2 separate regions of the Homo sapiens genome follow, and region 1 is linked to region 2. The links are contacts of gene promoters, found by promoter capture Hi-C in human tissues and cell types (Jung and others, 2019). All regions are on one chromosome and are shown on one strand. Each heading gives the region's core, a stretch centred on a gene start or on the middle of the fragment in contact. The rest is flanking DNA. Distances are from core to core; before and after follow the strand shown. Region 1 has its middle 39 kb from the start of LTBP4. Region 2 holds the start of PRX (periaxin).

Region 1 (5,207 bases), core at 1,760-4,259, 230 kb before region 2:
TTCCTCTCTCTGAGCCTCAGCTTCCCCATCTGTAAGATGGGTATGTGAAAACCCCAAGAGTTAACAAAGGCATCCAGGAAGCTCTCAACTGTGGCAGCTCTTTCTTTCTTCTACTTTTTTTTTTTTTTTTTCGAGATGGAGTTTTGTTCTTGCTGCCCAGGCTAGAGTGCAGTGTTGTGATCTCGGCTTACTGTGATCTCTGCCTCCCGGGTTCAAGCGATTCTCCTGCCTCAGCCTCCCGAGTAGCTGGGATTACAGGCATGTGCCACCACACCCGGCTAATTTTGTATTTTTAGCAGAGATGGGATTTCTCTATGTTGGTCAGACTTGTCTCGAACTCCCGACCTCAGGTGATTAGTCCACCTCGCCCTCCCAAAGTGCTGGGATTACAGGCGTGAACCACCGCGCCCGGCCCTCTTCCTTCTTTATTTACAGCTCTGAGGCCGAGTCATCCCAACCCAGGCACTAGCCCTGCACAGAGCAGCCAGCCCTCCTGGTCGCCTGCCCGCTGCTCCCCCACAGACAACCTGACAGTGTTCCGCGCTTTATTTTAAATTATTTTTTATTTTTGGAGACAGGGTCTTACTCTGCTGCCCAGGCTGGAGTGCAGTGGCATGATCACGGCTCACCTCAGATCTCCTGGGATCCAGCGATCCTCCCACCTCAGCCTCCTAAGTAGCCTTGGGAGTACAGGTGGGTGCCACCATGCCTGGCTAATTTTTAATTTTTTGTAGAGACAGGGGTCTCACTATGTTGCCCAGGCTGATCTCGAACTCCTGGGATTAAGCCAGCCTCCCACTTTGGCCTCCCAAAGTGCTGGGATTAGAGATATGAGCCACCACACCCAGCCTATGTTCTGTGTTTTCTACCTTCAATAGCACTCAAATTCTCCCCTTCCCTTGGCGGGGCGTAGTGGCTCACACCTGTAATCCCAGCACTTTGGGAGGTTGAGGTGTGCGGATCACTTGAGGCCAGGAGTTCAAGACTAGCCTGGCCAACATGGCAAAACCCTGTCTCTCCTAAAAATACAAAAAATTAGGCCAGACGTCGTGGCTCATGCCTGTAATCCCAGCACTTTGGGAGGCCGGGGCAGGTGGATCGCTTGAGGTCAGGAGTATGAGACCAGCCTGGCCAATATGGTGAAACCCCGTCTCTACCAAAAATATTAAAAATTAGCTGGGTGTGAGGGTGCGTGCCTGTAATCCCAGCTACTTGGGAGGCTGAGGCAGGAAAATCCCTTGAACTCGGGAGGCAGAGGTTGCAGTGAGCAGAGATCGTGCCATTGCACTACAGTCTTGGAGACAGACTGAAACTCTGTCTCAAAAAAATATAATAAAATAAAATTATCTCCTTCCCCAATCCACAGTCCCCAGGGCCTGCGCCTCCCAGATTCTCCATGGCCCTGTCCATCTCCGCTGCCTGGGTCCCTGCCCGGCCGGCCTCCTCCCTGGACTCCAGCCTGCCCTTATGTCTCCCATGACCCACTCCCACCCAGCCACCCACAAGCACTTTCTAAATCTGACCACAGACCCCCATGTCTCAAAGGATAACTCGAGGCCTGCCAAGCGCCTCCCTTCCCCATAGGACAAAATTATTGCCAGTAATAATCAGGAAATGAAATGAACAATATTAATAGTCAGAAAAGAAATGTAAACAGTGGAGATTTTCTTTTCTTGAACCTCATATACGTAAAGTCTGCCAGTAAAAATTAAATTTAAAAGTAAACATTACAGTACTAAAAAAAAAAAGAAAGAAAAATAGCACTACTATTTATTCAAAGTTTATTGAAAAATTCGAAGTTGGAACTTGGGTTTTTGGGTTACAGTCTGATATAAAATTGTTATGTAAATAGTTGTGAGTTTTTTTCTTCTTGAGGAGAGAGAGACTGGGAGGGAGGGAGGAAACAGGAAGAGAGACAGACAGAGAGACAGACACAGAGTGAGACACAGTTGACCCCTTCACATGGGGCCCTGGGCACTTAGAATTCACCCTGCAAAGCCCCCCCGAAGTCAGGACTTGGTGTGGGGTGTTGCAGAAATGTTTCCTCCCCCTGCCCGGGCTCCGCTGGGAAGCCACGTCCCCCACCCCTGCCCTTCCTCCCACCCACAGCCTGCCTTCTCTCTGGGGACCTCTGTGGAGCTGCCTGGAACATGCGTGGGGTGACATGCATAGCAAGCTGGGGGAAGCAACCAAGGTGGTGGCCAGGCCCCTTGAAGACATAAAAGCACATTGCATTGGGAGGGAGGGACCCCGGGGGGCTGAGAATGTCCTGTTGCTTAAACTGGATGGAGGGGACACTGGGTGGTGGGTGCAGCTCCTCGTTTTCAGCAGTGGTTTCTTGAAGTAGACCCATATTCAGGAAAGTACAAACCGTAAGTGTAACCGCTGGAGGAATTATCACCGATTGAACACACCTGTGTCACCAGCCACCAGCCCAAGAAGCAATATCTCCAGCCCCCCAGAAGCCCCCTCGGCGCTCCCTTATCACCTGCCCTCCCTCCAAGGTCATTATCACCCTCACTTCTGACAGCATAGATTGGTTGTGCCTGTTTTGAATTCATGTAAATGCAATCTGAAAATATGTTCTTTTTAGCATCTGGCTTTTTTCAGTCAGCACCGTGAAAAAAATTCATCCTGGTTGTCGTGTGCAGTTACAGGTTATTCTCATTGCAGCACACACACATTGCAGGCCACTGTGGGATCAGTTTATCCATTCTTCTGCTGGTGGTGAGGGACTGAGCCAAGGGGGCCAGGCGCGGTGGCTCACACCTGTAATCCCAGCACTTTGGGAGACTGAGGTAGATGGATCACTTGAGATCAGCAGTTCGAGACCAGCCTGGCCACATGGTGAAACCCCGTCTCTACTAATAATACAAAAATTAGCTGGGGGTGGTGGCGGGTGCCTGTAGTCCCAGCTACTCGGGAGGCTGAGGCAGGAGAATTGCCTGAACCTGAGAGGAGGAGCTTGCTGTGAGCCGAGATCGTGCCACTGCACTCCAGTCTGGGCAACAAGAGTGAAAAAACTCCGTCTCAAAAAAAAAAAAAAAGAGAAACTGAACCTAGTGGAAAGAGTCCCCTAGGCAGAGGGAACAGCCAGTGCCAAGGTCCTGGGGTGGGATGGGAACATGTCTGGATCTTAGAGAAACAACAAGGAGATCCGTGTTGCTGCAGAGGAGCGTGTGGGGGGTGGAGGGGAGGTGAGGTCAGAGAGGGAACAAGAAGCAGACGGTGCAGAGTCTGCTGGACCACAGTGAGGACTTTGGCTCTTACTTTGAATGAGATTGGCGGAACACAGTGGCTCAGGCCTGGAATCCCAGCATTTTGGGAGGCCGAGGTGGGTAGATAAGTTGAGCCCATAAGTTCAAGACCAGCTTGGGCAATAAGGGAGGCCTCGTCTCTATCAAAAAATTGGCTGGGTTGTGGTAGCCCTGGAGGCCTGGAGGATGGCTTGAGCCGAGGAAGTCTAGGCTGCAGTGAGTCATGACTTGCACCACTGCACTCCAGCCTGGGCAACAGAGTGAGACCCTGTCTCAAAAAAAAACAAAAAAAAAATGAGCAAAATAATCTTTGAGTGAGATGGAGCCACAGGAAAGTTTTGAGCAGCAGAGGGAGTTGAGTTGACTTGGTTATTCCCAGAGTCCCTCTATCTGCATGACGGGGAGAGATTGTGGGGCCAGGAGTAGGAACTCCAAACCCTAGGAGGAGGGTAAGATATGGGTGGCAGCTATGGAGGTGGTAAGAAGTATTTGGCCTCTGAATACATTTTTTCTTTGTTTGTTTTTGAGAGGGAGTCTCACTCTGTCACCCAGGCTGGAGTGCAGTGGTGCAATCTGAGCTCACTGCAACCTCCACTTCCTGGATTCAAGCAATTCTCCTACCTCAGCCTCCCAAGTAGCTGGGATTACAGGCGTGCACCACAATGCCTGGATAACTTCTTCTTCTTTTTTTTTTTTTTTTTTTTTGTATTTTTGGTAGAGATGGGGTTTCACCATGTTGGCCAGGCTAGTCTCAAACTTGTTGCCTCAAGTGATCCGTCTGCCCCAGCCTCACAAAGTGCTGGGATTACAGGTGTGAGCCACCATACCTGGCCCTGAATACATTTTTTGTGTATGTGATTAATGATGTATTTTATTTACTTCTACCATTTTGCTTTGTGATTCTAGTGTCCTCATTTTTCTACGTTTATTTATTTTTTCATGCTCATTTAAGCTTCTTTGAATTGGCTGCATTTTTTGTTTAGTTTTGTCTTATGTTTTCTTATTCTTTGTTTTCCCTCTACTAGTTTGGAATCTATGCACCATTTCTTTCTTTTTGTAGCAATCTTTGAAATTTTAACATGCTTTTTTTTTTTTTTTTTTTTTTGAGGCAGGGTCTTGCTCTGTTGCCCAGCCTGCAGTGCAGTGGTGAGATCCTAGCTCGTTGCAGGCTGGAACTCCTGGTCTCAATGGATCCTCCCTCCTCAACCCCCTGTGTAGCTGGCACTACAGGTGTACAAGACCACACCCACCTAATATTTTTATTTTTGTAGAGACAGGGTCTAGCTATGTTGTCCAGGTTGATCTCCAACTCCTGGGCTCAAGTGATCCTCCCACATTGGCCTCCCAAAGTCCTAGGATTATAGGCATGAATTACTGTGCCTGGCCATGCACATTTTTAAAAATCAGGTCTATTTCTATTGGAGGACAGAAATTTAAAAAATCAAGTCTAGGCTAGGCGCAGTGGCTCACGCCTGTTATCTCAGCACTTTGGGAGGCCGAGGAGGGCAGATCATGAGGTCAGGAGTTCGAGATCAGCCTGGCCAATATGGTGAAACCCCGTCTCTACTAAAAATACAAAAATTAGCCAGGTGTGGTGGCGCACACCTGTAGTCCCAGCTACTCAGGAGGCTGAGGCAGAAGAGTCGCTTGAACCTAGGAGGCGGAGGTTACAGTGAGCCGAGATGACGCCACTGCACTCCAGCCTGGGCGACAGAGCAACACTCTGCCTCAAAAAAAAAAAAAAGAAAAAATCAAGTTTAAAATCTAATATTTTCAACATCACACCAAACAGTACCTGGAGCACAGAGCATGTTGTTTTTGATCTCCCCAATCCTACTTATAATGATAGTGTTGTCTAAGATTTTATTTTATTTCATATTATTTTTGAGTTGGAGTCTTGCTCTGTTACCCAGGGTGGAGTGCAGTGGCGCCATCTCGGCTCACTGCAAC
Region 2 (5,237 bases), core at 2,341-4,840:
AGCCTGGCCAACATGGCGAAACCCCCATCTCTGCTAAAAATACAAAATTATTGCTTCTTGGCCTTTTGGCTAAGATCAAGTGTAAAATACAAAAATTAGCTGGGTGTGGTGGTAGGCGCCTGTAATCCCAGCTACTCGGGAGGCTGAGGCAGGAGAATCTCTTGAACCCAGGGGGCGAAGGTTGCAGTGAGCCGAGATTGTGCCACTTTGCTCCAGCCTGGGTGAAAGAGCGAAAACTCTGCCTAAAAAAAAAAAAACAAAAGAAAAATTAAAAAAAAGAAAGAAAATAACTCACAGCAGGCCAGGCACAGTGGCTCATGCCTGTAATGTCAGCACTTTGGGAGGCCAAGGCAGGAGGATCGCTTGAGGCCAGGAGTTTGAGGCCAGCCTGGGCAACATAGTGAGACCCGCATCTCTCAAAAACAAGAAAACAAAAAACTCACAGCAAACTAGGGAAAGAAGCTTCCTTAACCTGATAAAGCGTATCTACAAAACATGGACCGCTAACTTCCTACTTTATGGCAAAAGGTTAAATGCTTTCCCCTAAGACTGAGAACAAGCAAAGATCTCTGCTCTCTGCGACAAGGGAAGAGAGGGGATGTTGTGTACCAGCCTCCCTTTTCTGTTTGACCCTGAGCAGAGAGAGGGGGATTTTCTTCCCTATGCTAGCCTGGCTGATAGCTCAGCCTCTTTCTGCCTTCAGGTACCTAAAAGCTCAGTGCTATTCATACTTTGTCCCTCTGATAGCTCTTCAGGGCCCACAGGACAAAGTCTGAGGCCCTCCTCATGGCCCTGCTGACCCCTGGACCTCCTCTTACCTTTCCCTCACACTCTCACCTTAACCGTTTTCTCAAAGGGCCTTTGCACAGGGTGTTCCCGCTACCTGAAACACACTGTCATTCCTTCACCACCCATGGCTTTGGGTTAACTTCTATATATCCTCCAGGTGCAAGCTCAAATGCCACTTCCTCCAGGAAGCCCTCCTTGATTTCTCTTCCTAGGCTGGGGCAGCCACCTTTTCTGGACTTCCCCATCAAGGCTTTGACCTCTCTGCCTATGATTGCCCCATCACAACCCTCCTCTTTCTGGGTTTGTTCCCTGCTGGACTGTGAATGGTGTGGATGCAGGCCTGAGCTGTCCCAGTCACACTGTGTCCCCAGCACCATCCAGCCTGGGACTGGACAGAAGACCAGGTGCTCACTGAATGTTTGCTGATGGTGAATGAAGACCCGCTCCATTTCTCACCTCTGGTCCTTTGCCCACATTTGTCCCTCTGCCTGGAACCCCCTTCCCTCCTTTTTTCCTTAGCTCCCTCCTCCTCAATCTTCCATTTTGACTTCCTTTTATTATTTATTATTATTTTCTTTTTGAGACAGAGTCTCGCTCTGTCACCCAGGCTGGAGTGCAATGGCGCAATCTTGCCTCACTGTAACCTCTGCCTCCTGGGTTTAAGCAATTCTCCTGCTCAGCCTCCCGAGTAGCTGGGATCACAGGTGCCCGCCACCACGCCTGGCTAATTCAGTTTGACTGCCGATATCACCTCCTGCAGGATCCTTTCCTGAGTTTGCCGCCTCCTCCCTGGGGTGGAGTTAGATCTGTTGATGTCCCCTGTGCCCAGCAAAAGACCTACCACTAAACAGGGCTTGTGAGTGTTTGTTGAATGAATATAGGAACAAAAGAATGTTTGCGTGAATCAATGAAGGAGAGAGACTGCAATGAAGTGAGGGTCTCCTCAGGCCCATCGGGAGCCCCGACCATACCATCCCTTCTACCCCTCCTGGGAGGAGGGCTCTGGCTGGCTTCTGGCCACACCCCAATGCTTGGTTGCTGCCAGGCCTGGAAGGCATTTCCCAGAGCTCAGCACATTCCTGCCTTCCCCGGTGGCTGAGAGTGGGCAGGGGGCATTTCAGAGAGAAGGGAGGGAGGCCCCCAGCATTCCGGGATCCTGCCATCCTGGCCTGGTCCCCCACGCCCTCTGAAGTAGGCCCCAACCCTCTGGTGTGAGATGGGGGACAGGTCTGCAGAGGGGCCACCCAGGCTGGTGTGAGGGGCGAGGGTGCCGACAGAGGCCAGGGCTTGGTGTCTGTGCCTGGCTGGACAATGGGGCAGAAGCTGCTGACATGCGCTTTGGGGGTAATCCCCCAGCCTCAGCCCAGCCCAGGCCTGGGGCCTGGGTTCAGAGAGCGACGAGCTTCCGAGGCAGCAGCCGGGTGGGTTCAAGTGGCATGTGGGGGTACCTGTGCTCCCTGTGCCGCCCCCCGGGGTCTGGTGAGTCAGGGCAGGCTGGGGGCTGGACCAGGGTCCAGGGGTTGGGGGTGAGGCCTGGTAGCTTTGGCTTGGGAGTCGGGCAGGTCTGGGTTCAACTCTGGACCCCTGCCAATGACCTGCTATGGTGATATTGGGAGAGTCACTTACCTTCTCTGAGCCTTCTGGTCTGCAAAGTGGAAGGGGCAGAAGAGTGTAGCAGGGTTTTTGTGGTCCAGGAGAACAGGGGTTGGACCTCAGCTTCACCACCTCCTGGCCACATAGCTATAAATTGGGCATAGCTGGACGCGGTGGCTCACGCCTGTAATCCCAGAACTTTGGGAGGCCGAAGTGGGAAGATCGCTTGAGCCCAGGAGTTCGAGACCAGCCTGGGCAACATGGTGAAACTTTGCCATTACAAAAAATACAAAAATTAGCTGGGCATGATGATGCATACCTGTGGTCCCAGCTATTTGAGGGGGCTCAGTCGGGAGGATTGCTTGAGCCCAGGAGGTGGAGGCTGCAGTGAGCCATGATCACACCACTGCACTCCAGCCTGGGCAACAGAGTGAGACCTTGTCTCAAAAAAAAGGGTGGGGAGCATAAGGAGCCCATTTTACACCCTTGATTCAAAAGCAGGGCTTCAGCACTGAGCATGGTACTTAGTATGTGATAGGTGTCCCCCTAAACAGTAACTCCATTAGACAGAGAACTGGGGGTCCCCTGTGCCCAGCCTTACTGAAAAGGGGCCAAAACCCCCCAGCAAGATGAGCCAGCCACCTAATTTGTGTGAAAAATAATACCAAATACTTATTAGTAACCCTCATTATGTGCCCGGCATTGTCTTACATTTTCAGTCTCTTTTAACTCGTTTAATCTTCACCACAGCCCCATAAGGTGGGTACTCTTACTATCCGCAAAGAGAAGCTGTGACTGGCAGCAGGTCACCCAGCGAGGAAGTGGTCGCGCTGCGATTTGAACCCAAGTTGACAGGGAGAGGGAGTGAAAGGAGTTTACAGTAGAGGCAGTTGGCCAGGCCCGGGTCCTGGAGCCAGGAAACAGTGGGGCTGGGGTGGGGTCCTGATTCTCCAAGTCGAGGAAGCCAACGTGCAAATCCTTGAAGCTGAGCTCATGGCAGAGATCTCGGCCCAGGCAAGAGAGAGGCGGCTGGTGGCTGTCCCGTGGCCCCCACCCCTTGGGGATAGATGTAGCTGGAGGAGGGGGATGTTTGTTTCTCCACCACCCACCCTCTGGTGACGTCACACCCCCGCAGCCAATGGCTGGGGTCTCTCTCTCCTCCCCCCTCCCCATTCCTTTTCCCCCCCAGCCTAGGGCTAGGGCTGACAGACGGGACCAGGAGCTCTCGAGGTGTCTGGAGGCTCAGCGGTAAGAGATCAGCCGGCCGGTCCCTTCCCTGGCCAGGCTGAGACACTGTGGGAATGAGGTTCAGGGTCCCGGGAGGTGCTGGGAGGGGGCCTGGGGGCTCAGGAAGCCGTGTGGTGTAGGTGTTAAAGGTATAGACTTTGGAGCTGGTGGTTCAAATCCCCTTTCCTCTCCTTTCTGGCTGTGCAGCCTTGGGCAAGATACTTCATCCTTTGTGCCTCTGTTTCCCCATCTCTAAAATGGGCTGATGTCTGGAGGCCACCTCACAGGGCTGGTGCCGAGTAAATGAGTTGCTGCTTTTAAAGAGCTAGGGCAGCCAGGCATGGTGGCTCATGCCTATAATCCCAGCACTTTGGGAGGCTGAGGCGGCAGGACTGCTTAAGCCCAGGAGTTCGAGACCAGCCTGGGCCACATAGAGAGGCCCCCATCTCTACAAAACAAAAAAAAATTTTTTTTAATTAGCTGGGCATGGTGGTGCATGCCTGTGGTTCCAGCTACTCTGGAGGCTGAGATGGGAGATTGGGTTGGGCCCAGGAGGTTGGGGCTGCAGTGAGCCGTGATCACACCTCTGCACTCCAGTCTCAGTGACAGAGGGAGACCCTGTCTCCAAAAAACAAACTAACAAACACCAGAGCTGGGGCAGGAGGCCTGGGGTGGGTCCCTGGAGTAGGGTGCTAGGGAGGCAGCATGGATCCTGTTGGGAGGCTGGTGCCTGAGCTGGGTTTTGTCTCTCAGCCAAAGCTCCCCTTTGGTAGCAGAGAAAGTGGGGGCCACTGAGGAGCAAAGGTTGGATGTGCAACACTGTGAGAAGCACAGCTCCCTCCCTCCATACTCTCCCTGTTGCTGTCAGAGACGAGTTTATATTAATCAAGCATTTACTATACAGGAGGGATATTCTAAGCACCTGCTGTTCTCTCACAAATCTTCAAAGCCTTTCTTATTGGCTCCATTTTACAGATGGAGAAACTGAGGCCCCAGAGATGAAGGATCTTGCCCAAGTCCTCACACCTGGGAAGTGCTGGAGCAGGGACTAACCGAGGCAGCCAGAGGCCACTGCCTTAACTCCCCCTGACCCCCTAGGTGGCCTCAGATAATGTTTAGAGGTCTGGATGAGTCAGCCCAACCCCTGACCCCCATTGCTATGAGAGATCACGCTGGTGGCGGGGGAAAGCTGAGGCTCTGAGCAGGCAGGGTTCCCAAGTGAAGTTGGTGGCAGTCACCAGGGAAAGAGGGCCAGAAGGGCAATGCCCTCAGCCGATCCCTCAGCAGCCTCCGAATGACAACCCCTCGCTCCCAGCTGCTCTGAAGGGCATAAGTCGCATCTGAAATGGATATCTCAGTTGTACCCACTCCAGGGAGATGTTACAAAGATTTAAGGAGCCAAGACAGGAAGGATCTTAGCACACAGTAGGTGCTCAAGAAATGGGGACCCTGGGGATTCTGAAAGTTCTGGCATATGCCAGGGTCATGCCACAGTAACTACCCAAGAAATAGGCTGCTGGCATCTGGAGTGTCTGCCTGGTCCCAGTGGATCTGCCTCTAACACAAGGCAGGGACCCTCCCCAGGAGCCTCCCCACCCCTCTTTCCCCTGCCTAGTGGGATAGGCAGA

The links. The method cuts DNA at HindIII sites, captures the fragments that hold promoters and counts their contacts. A contact is called where the count stands out against the background at its distance.
Region 1: a fragment that was not itself captured here is called in contact with the fragment with the promoter of PRX in region 2 in 3 of the 25 tissues and cell types used here (IMR-90 fibroblasts, hippocampus and liver).

The regions. Positions count from the first base shown.
Region 1 is chr19:40,637,771-40,642,977 of GRCh38, reverse strand. No RefSeq gene overlaps it. Among named protein-coding and RNA genes, the nearest start is that of LTBP4, 39 kb to the right of the region's middle. The HindIII fragment of the contact is 3,860 bases long and covers 1,080-4,939 here.
Region 2 is chr19:40,411,731-40,416,967 of GRCh38, reverse strand. PRX (periaxin) reads left to right here and starts at 3,590. Exons shown (of 7, transcript NM_181882.3): 1 at 3,590-3,630. RefSeq lists an enhancer at 2,132-2,780. The HindIII fragment of the contact is 14,641 bases long and covers 1-5,237 here.